Linked DNA regions of Homo sapiens: region 2 is linked to region 1. The links are contacts of gene promoters, found by promoter capture Hi-C in human tissues and cell types (Jung and others, 2019). All regions are on one chromosome and are shown on one strand. Each heading gives the region's core, a stretch centred on a gene start or on the middle of the fragment in contact. The rest is flanking DNA. Distances are from core to core; before and after follow the strand shown. Region 1 overlaps MRTFA (myocardin related transcription factor A). Region 2 holds the start of CACNA1I (calcium voltage-gated channel subunit alpha1 I).

Region 1 (4,514 bases), core at 1,795-4,294:
TGAAGGAATGGGAAAAATTTAATTCCTTTATCAGATATTTATAAATATTTATTGTGTGTTTACTATGTACCTTTCACATGGAGGCTAATATGTGGAGGTAGACACTAAATTAGGTTCACATGAAATGTTTTAAGTAATTTAGGCCAGTGTTGACATAAGGAAAAATATTTGAAATCTATGTGTATGGTGAAGGTGGAGTCATTTTTTTTTATATTGATGAAAACAGTAACTTAGTGATAGATGAGCAGTTACACAGCATAAGTAGTTAACATAAATACTAGAGTCATACTGCATAGATCGGAATCCTGGCTCTACTTGCCGGCCGTGTGTATGAACTTGGACTGTGTGACTATGATACTCTTGCTACTTTATATTCTCTGTGACTCACTAGCTGTAAAATGGGGATAAAAATGGGGCCTGCTTCATATTGTTGCTGTGAGGATTAAATAAAAATATATAAAGTCCTTGGAACAGCTTTACATGCATGTCATTATCATGGTTATTATGATCATCATTGGTTTTGGGCAGTAGCGTAGAACTGACTGGGTGAATTAGTTTGGAGTCAGAGAGATGAATGAATATAGACTGATATGAGTATGCAGAAGGAGGCATTTAAATGTTAACCATTGCTGCTTCACCATCAATTTTTCTATGTCAAGTACCTACATCTAGATAATTTTTATTTTACAAAGTAGAGTGAACCAGTGGCTTTATTTAGGTGAATTCCACAGTTAAAATAAGACCCAAGGAGGTGCACAAGTTGCCATTAAGGGTGTCTCTTACCATCTTGTATCTTTGAATTTACTGGGCTCTCTGTCTGTAGAATGGGTTTAGCTGGAAGCAGTACTTAAAAGAGCATGTGCTTCACAAGAGCTAGGGCCCATAATAAAAATACCTAGAATGAGAACCTGTGTGGCTGAGTTTGAGGGACAAGGTTAACCTGGAGGGAATTTCAAAGGTATAGGCCTGGTACTGTGGCTCATGCCTATAATCCCAGCCATGTGAGAGGCTGAGACAGGAGGATTGCTTGAGCCCAGGAGTTTGAGGCTGCAATGAGCTGTGATCACACCACTGTGCTCCAGCCTGGTTAACAGATGAGACACTGTCTCAAGTAAATAAATAAATTAGAAAGTTAATTATAAGAAACTTCTAAATCTGGAGTATAGAAGTTTAGGAATTCAAAGGACGGATTTTGTGAAACTGCATCAGTTTAGATAAACTCTTTAGAGGCAGTAGTGATCTTCCTAATGAAGATGACTTCCATTTTACTACTTTAGGAAGTAGATTTGTTACGTCGAAAGGAAAGGAAATAGAAATGGATTCAGCTTTCTCCAAGTTGAAGTCTGAAATCTCTGATTTTGTACAACAGAAAAACGATTCTGTTGACTTAAAAACTGCCCAGGTGTTTTTTTGTTTGTTTCTTTTGTTTTGTTTTTAAAGAGACAGAGTCTCACTCTGTCATCCAGCTACCACACCCAGGCCTGTACCTTTTATTTTTTTATTTTTATTTTTTGAGAGACAGAGTCTCGTTCTCTTGCCTAGGGTAGAGCACAGTGGTGTGATCATGGCTCACTGCAACTGCCGCCTCCCAGGTTCAAGCGATTCTCCTGCCTCAGCTTCCCAAGTAGCTGGGATTACAGGTATGTGCCACCATGCCCAGCTAATTTTTGTATTTTTTAGTAGAGGCAGGGTTTCACTATATGTTGGCCAGGCTGGTCTCAAACTCCTGACCTCAGGTGATCCGCCTGCCTTGGCCTCCCAAAGCGCTAGGATGATAAGCATGAGCCACCGTGCTTGGCCAGTCCTGTACCTTTTAAATGCCCTCCAGATTAACCTTGTCCCTCAAACTCAGCCACACAGGTTCTCATTCTAGGTATTAGTGTGGGCCCTAGTTCCACCTCTAAGCTCTTGTGAAGCATATGGTGGGATCATAGCTCACTGCAACCTCAAAACTCCTTGTCTTAAGTGATCCTTCTGCCTCTGCCTCCTGAGTAGCTAGGACAACAGCATGTACCACCATGCTTGGCTAATTTTTTTTTTTTTTTTTTTTTTTTTGAGATGGAATCTTGCTCTGTCACCCAGGCTGGAGTGCAGTGGCGGGATCTCGGCTCACTGCAAGCTCCGCATCCTGGGTTCAAGCAATTCTCCTGCCTTAGCCTCCCGAGTAGCTGGGATTATAGGCACCCACCACCACGCCCAGCTAATTTTTTGTATATGTATATATTTTTTTTAGTAGGGACGGAGTTTCACTATGTTGGCCAGGCTGATCTCGAACTCCTGACCTCAGGCGATCCATCCGCCTCGGCCTCCCAAAGTATTGGGATTACAGCGTGAGCCACTGTGCCTGGCCTGCTTGGGTAATTTTTTTTTTTTTAATTATGTTTTGAGACGGAGTCTTGCTCTGTTGACCAGGCTGGAGTGCAGTGGTTCGATCTTGGCTCACTGCAACCTCCGTCTCCCGGGTTCAAGCCATTCTCCTGCCTCAGCCTCCCAGGTAGCTGGGACTACAGGCATGTGCCACCATGCCCGGCTAATTTTTTTGTATTTTTGGTAGAGACGGGGTTTCACCATATTGGACAGGCTGGTCTCAAACTCCTGACTTCAAGTGATCCGCCCGCCTCGGCCTCCCAAAGTGCTGGGATTACACATGTGAGCCACCGCGCCCAGCCTCTGCTTGGCTAATTTAAAAAATTTTTTTTGTAGAGAAGAGAAGAGAGTCTTGCTATATTGCCTAGACTAGTCTCAAATTCCTGGCCACAGCAATCCTCCTGCCTTGGCCTCCCGAAGTGTTGGGATTACAGGTGTGAGCCACCGTGCCTGGCCAAAATTCTTAAAAATACTGAATCCATATCACATGTATGAGGAGAGAAGATAATTACACTCTGTGTCACTGCAGGTGTTAAAGCAGAAATTGGGTGACCTGTCAGGGTGCATTGGGTGGAACTAATTGCTCAAGTTGCCTTCAGTTCTGTGGTTCATGACTCAAGTCCAGTTCTCTCATTGTTTAGTGGGAGGAGGCACTGTGAAATTAAATGATTTGAGTTCCACAACAGTCCAGGGGCTGAGCCCAGGCCAGTTCCTCACACAGTATTTAAGGCCGGCTCATATAGCAGTAATAGAAGATCTGTAGAATCCTTGGAAGAAAGAGCGTTGTGAAAATGTCTTTTTTTTTTTTTACTTCCACATTTTTACTTCTGTGGTATGTTTGGTTCATTTGCTCCCCACTCATTCTTATTGATATGCATTTAGAAATCATTCTCTGTGTAAATGAGAGCTTGTAATGAGTAATTTGGCTAGTTCATTTTGAGATCTGGAGTGTGTCCTCTGTTACTGAATTTCTAGATAGGTAGGCTATTTACAGGTCTTTGTCCTCTAAAATTATGAGTGGAAATTATGGGTGATTCTGGTTTTTGAAAATAATTGTTCTTGTATTAAAATTTAAAGCATAATGGGCATAATTCAAACAAAGTTCTGAACTTCATAATATGACAGAGTAAAATATCCAGTGAGGTAACATGTCCATGTCAAGTTTTAGGGCACAGCAGATCTGGGTACTGACAGTTACCAGGTATGTGACTGTAGGCTTACTCCTTAACCTTCCTGTGATTCAGCTTCTTCATCTGTAAACTAGAGTTAATAATCCTTACAACATGAGGTCGTTATAAGGATTATGAAGAAATGTAAAGAGGGAAGTAATAGGGGCATCTACTTTATAGTAGACATTGTGCTACCTTATTAATCCTCATATGAACTCTGAAATAAGTGGTAGTAGCAGCATTTTGCAGATGAGCAAAGAGAAGCTTCTAGAGGAACTTCTAGATAACAGGATTTTTGTTGTTGTTTTGCTTTTTTGTTTTTTTTAGACAGAGTCTTGCTTTGTCTTCCAGACATGAGTGTAGTGGCAGGGTCATAGCTCACTGTGTCCTCAAACTCCTGTAACCTCAAACTGCTGAAGCAGTTCTCCTGCATAACTAGGACTATAGGCGTGTGCCATCATGCCCGGCTAAATTTTTTTGTGCAGGCGGGGTGTCACAGTGTTCCCCAGGCTGATCTTGAACTCTTGCCCTCACGCTTTGACCTCCTAAACTGTTGAGATGACAGGCATGAGCCGCTGTGCCTGGCCAGGATTTGAATCCAGATCTGTTTTTGAATTAAATAATTCTGGCTTCCTACCATGATGTATATGAAGTTCCTAACTTTGCCTCTAGTAAATGTCTTTTCGTGTTCAGTGTCTTTTGCATAGTTAGCGAAAATGTCAGTTATAGTGAGAACTCTTTGTAGTAGTAATCAAGATGTTATAGCTCAGAAAATATTCTGTGCGGTATTCATTATATGTATCTGGTTGCCATTCCTGAGGTGGAAAACTATAATAGTAACCTCACATCTTAAGTTGCTCAATTAATACTTGCCAAATAAGGGCCAGGCATTATGGCTTACACCTGTAATCCCAGCACTTTGGGAGGACAAGGTGGGAGGATCACTTGAGCCCAGGAGTTCAAGACCAGCCTGGGCAA
Region 2 (4,311 bases), core at 1,648-4,147, 1.1 Mb after region 1:
AGTGGTCAGGCGTCAGGGTGCCTGAGATCAAGGCAGCCCCCATGGCGTGTGTGGCTAACACCCTGGGCTCCCAGGGCTGGAAGGGGTGATTCGTCTGCCGTCTCCTTTTTAGGTGGAGGTGCTGAGGCTCAGAGAGAGGAGACTGCCCAGGGTCACACACATGGCAGACAGGACTTGACCACCCCCATCTAGGGGCCTCTCCGTGACACGTGGGCAGCACCCCAGCCAGCCCAGCCAGAGCCCATCAGAGACGCAGCTGGGTCAGACTCCCAGGCCAAGTCCTCTGAGCCATGCCCCTGCCTCCAGCCCAGAGCAGTATTGCCCATCCAGACCCCCTAAGGTTCAAAGAAGCAAAGTGACTTACTCATGGTCACACAGCACCCAAGTGACAGAGCCAGAATCAACTCTTGTCATCTCACCCAGGAAAGGCCCCTGAGACATTGTGAAATTGTCCCCCTGGTCCTCCTACCAGCCTTTCTCTTCCTAAAGGCCCAAAATTCCTGCGGCCGCCCCCTTCTCAGGCCTGGCACTCCTCTGTTCACATGCCACAAGCCCCTGAGGTTTCCCCAGTGCTTTGTATTAAAACTAGCCACGTAGGCTGGGCACAGTGGCTCACACCTGTAATCCCAGCACTTTGGGAGGCCGAGGCAGGCGGTTCACGAGTCAGGAGTTCGAGACCAGCCTGACCAACATGGTGAAACCCCATCTCTACTAAAAATACAAAAATTAGTAGGGCATGGCGGTGGGTGCCTGTAGTCCCAGCTACTCGGGAGGCTGAGGCAGGAGAATTGCTTGAACCTGGGAGGCGGAGGTTGCAGTGAGCCGAGATCGCGCCACTGCACTCCAGCCTGGGTGACAGAGCGAGACTCCATCTAAAAAAAAAAACTAGCCAAATGGGTGGTCCCTGCTTCCCTCTTCCCCGGGCACTCCCTGGGACAGACACCAGCTCTGCCTCTTTGTCCTCAGTGTCCCAGGGCAGATGTCAGTGAGTGCTGGGTGAACTAATTACCGAGCAGACCCTCTCACCAAGCCTGAGACGCTGTGAGCCGTCCCCCAGAAGGAGCAGGGAGGCTCTTAGCCCCCACCCAGCAAGGAACACCCAGTTCTGCATCCCACTCCAGCAGAGACCCGCTGGTTTCCAAAAGTTAGGGGGATCCAGGGCCCACGATCACCTCAGCCCCCTACAGAAGGGAAGCCTGGCAGTCCTGCAGCCAGTCTCAACATCCCAGCCTGCATCTGGCATCCCTGGATTCCAGGGCAGGACTCAGGCCTGCACCTGACCCACCAGCTCCCCGCACCCTGCCCTGTGTGGCCACAAGCACCAGAACCTCGAGCCACATATGGGCATTTTTTGGTGGGACCCTCAAACCACAAGGCCACCATGGCTTGGGTCCCCAAGCCTCCTCCTCAGTGGTCCCCAGCCCCCACTTCACCCTGCAAGCCAGTGCCACACAGTCCTTCCAGAGCACAGATCTCTCCAGACCCTGCTTCAAATCCTGCCCTTGGAGCACAGTCCCATCCCTCATGCAGCCTCCAAGGCCCTGCAGGGCTCCCGCCACACCTGCAGCCTCACCTCACTCCTCTCTGCCCCTCAGGGCTCCAACACTGCCTGCAACTCCTCCCTTCTCCAGGCTTCGCTCCTGCCATGCCCTCCTCCTGCCTCCCACTACCCTCTCTACCCAACCAACGCTCTTCCTTATTGAGGAGTCAGCTCTGGCATTGCCCATGTACACCCAGCAAACACTGCCAGAGCACCCACGATGTGCCAAGCACTGTGCCAGGTGCTAGGGTCCCCATCCCAGTCATCTGACAGTACCCCAGGGGAGGCAAATGTTAGATTCAGAATTCCACAGTTAGATGTGACAGTTAGATATGAAGCAGAGGAGGAATCCCAGAGGGCTTCCCTGAGGAGGTGATGCTTAAGCTGGGATTTTAAGGATGTAGCAAAGGATTTGGCCAGGTCCAGGGGGAAGGGAAAAGCTTTTCAGACAGGGGGAAGAGCCAGTGAGAGGACCCTGAGGCTCAGAAGAGCACAGGGGGGAAGCCAAGTGGTGGGAAGTGAGGCTGGGTGGAACACACAGGCCCTGATGGGTTGGATTAGGACTTTGCTCTGCACCTCCAGGACCATAGCAAATCATGACAGTCTTAAGCAGGGGGAACATGAGCCCACTGGAGGCAGCAAGTGGAGGCAGGAGGCCTGGGAAGAGGCTGCTCGGAGGCACAGTAAGGAGAATGAGTCCTGCCCTGTGTGTTGGGATCGGCTGCCCCGCTGCCCACGCCCACAGTTCCTGATCACGGCTCCCATCCTCTGTATGGTCACGGCCCATCAGGTGGCTCCAGAGTCTGACTGATCTGCATTCCCAGCCCAGCACAGGTCTGGGGCCCACACTCAAGGACTTTCTGAGCCAGCCAGCCACTGGACTGACCCCACAGCCACCAGCAACTTCCAGAACCTTCACATCAGCAGAACACCAGGTCCTCATCCATTTGAGGTCTCCCCAGACCCACCCTCTGAGCTCGCTCACCACCACCAAGGCCCAGTGGCCTCACCGCAGACCTCAGGTCTCCCAGCCGGAGCAAGGTGTGAGCAGCAGGACTCAATCCAGCCCCCCACCCTTCAGCCCCTGCAGGGCCCCGATCAGCCGAGGCTGCGGAGGATATGGGTTGCACACCATCTTGATGCACCAGTTCCGGGGGCTGGTGGTCTGTCGCAGGCAGAAGAAGGCAATAGGCGCCAGGTCTGGGTGTGGGACATGAGGATCAGCTCCATCCAGAGGCTCCTCCAGGCCTGGCGGGGAGGATGGGGGGCTCCGGGGTCCGGGCTGCTCCGTGGTGACTCCTGGCTCAGCGGCTGGGGCTGCTGCAGATGAGGAGGGCGGGGAGGCGCTCTCAGCCATGTCCACACTGAGCTGGGAGCCCTGGGGAAGACAGAGAGGGTGGCACGTGGTGGGGACAGGCCTGGTACATGCTCCCCAACCTGCCTCTCCACCAATAAGTGGACGGATGCAGCTCTGACAGCCCCACCTGAGCCCCACAGGCCCCTCACCCTCACTCTTGCATGAGGATTACGAAACAGCTGAGGGCCCAGCTGCACCCAACTTGGAATCTGCTTCCAAGCTGGGTGATCATGGGGCAAGTCTGCTCACCCTGGCTGAGCCTCAGTTTTGGCAAACGAAGATAGTGGGGAGAATAAAGCCTTCTTAGAATATAATTGTGATATTAACTCTTTTTTTTTTGTCTATTGGCAATTTTCTGTATTTGAAATCTTTCATTATTTAAGAGAAAAAATGTTTAAGTAATTATAGACAGAAAAGAAAGACGGAAGGGAGGGAGAGAGGGAGAGAGGGAGGGAGGGAGGGAAGAAAGGAAGGAAGGAAGGAAGGAAGGAAGGAAGGAAGGAAGGGATCTTAACTTTTTTACAAGACTAGAGCTATGTATTTATTGCACCATCAAAGGTAAAGAAAACTTGCAAGAAAAAAGAGGTGATTGTAAAGACAGACATTATTGCCAGGACAATGCAGGTTACAAAGGCAATGTTGGGGTGCTGCAGAATCAGAGACTGGGGGAACGCTGGCAAGCCAGGAGGGAATCACAGTTGGCTTCCCTGAGGAAGTAACCCCTGAGCTGAGACCTACAGCTGAGCCCTTGACCCAGGGACCTCCCAGCCACTGCCTTACAAGGCTGAGAACCCAGGAATCTTAGAGTCTAACCTCCTTGCCTTACAGATGAAGAAACCGAGGCCCAGAGAAGGGACAGGACAGACATGTAGCAGAGTAACAGCAGAAATAGAATTCCAGTCAAAGGCCAGGCACGTGACTCACACCTGTAATCCCAGCACTTTGGGAGGCCAAGGTGGGTGGATCACCTGAGGTCAGGAGTTTGAGGCCAACCTGGCCAACATAGTGAGACCTCATCTGTACTAAAAATACAAAAATTAGCTGGGTGTGGTGGCACACGCTGTAATCTCAGCTACTCGGGAAGCTGAGGCATGAGAATCACTTGAACCCGGGAGGTGGAGGTTGCAGTGAGCCAAGATCACACCACTGCATTCCAGCCTGGGCAACAGAGCAAGACTCTGTCACCAAAAAAAAAAAAAAAAAAGAATTCCGGTCAGAGCCCGCTTCCTGGGTCTGTGGCTCAGGCAGCTGCACAGGGCCCCGTGCTCAGAAGGGCCCTGAACTTGCTTTAGAATTCTTCTGTCACCAACATGAAATTCTTAATTGCTTATCAAGAGGTCCCACATTTTCATTTTGTTCTAGGTGATGCAAATCATCTTGCTGGCTCCGACTCCAACTCAAAGCACTTCTACTC

The links. The method cuts DNA at HindIII sites, captures the fragments that hold promoters and counts their contacts. A contact is called where the count stands out against the background at its distance.
Region 2: the fragment with the promoter of CACNA1I here is called in contact with a fragment that was not itself captured in region 1 in 1 of the 25 tissues and cell types used here (dorsolateral prefrontal cortex).

The regions. Positions count from the first base shown.
Region 1 is chr22:40,627,317-40,631,830 of GRCh38, reverse strand. The region is part of intron 1 of MRTFA (myocardin related transcription factor A); the gene reads left to right. Among named protein-coding and RNA genes, the nearest start is that of MRTFA, 7.1 kb to the left of the region's middle. The HindIII fragment of the contact is 9,289 bases long and covers 1-4,514 here.
Region 2 is chr22:39,569,339-39,573,649 of GRCh38, reverse strand. CACNA1I (calcium voltage-gated channel subunit alpha1 I) reads right to left here and starts at 2,897. Exons shown (of 37, transcript NM_021096.4): 1 at 2,662-2,897. The coding sequence starts at 2,897. The HindIII fragment of the contact is 10,754 bases long and covers 718-4,311 here.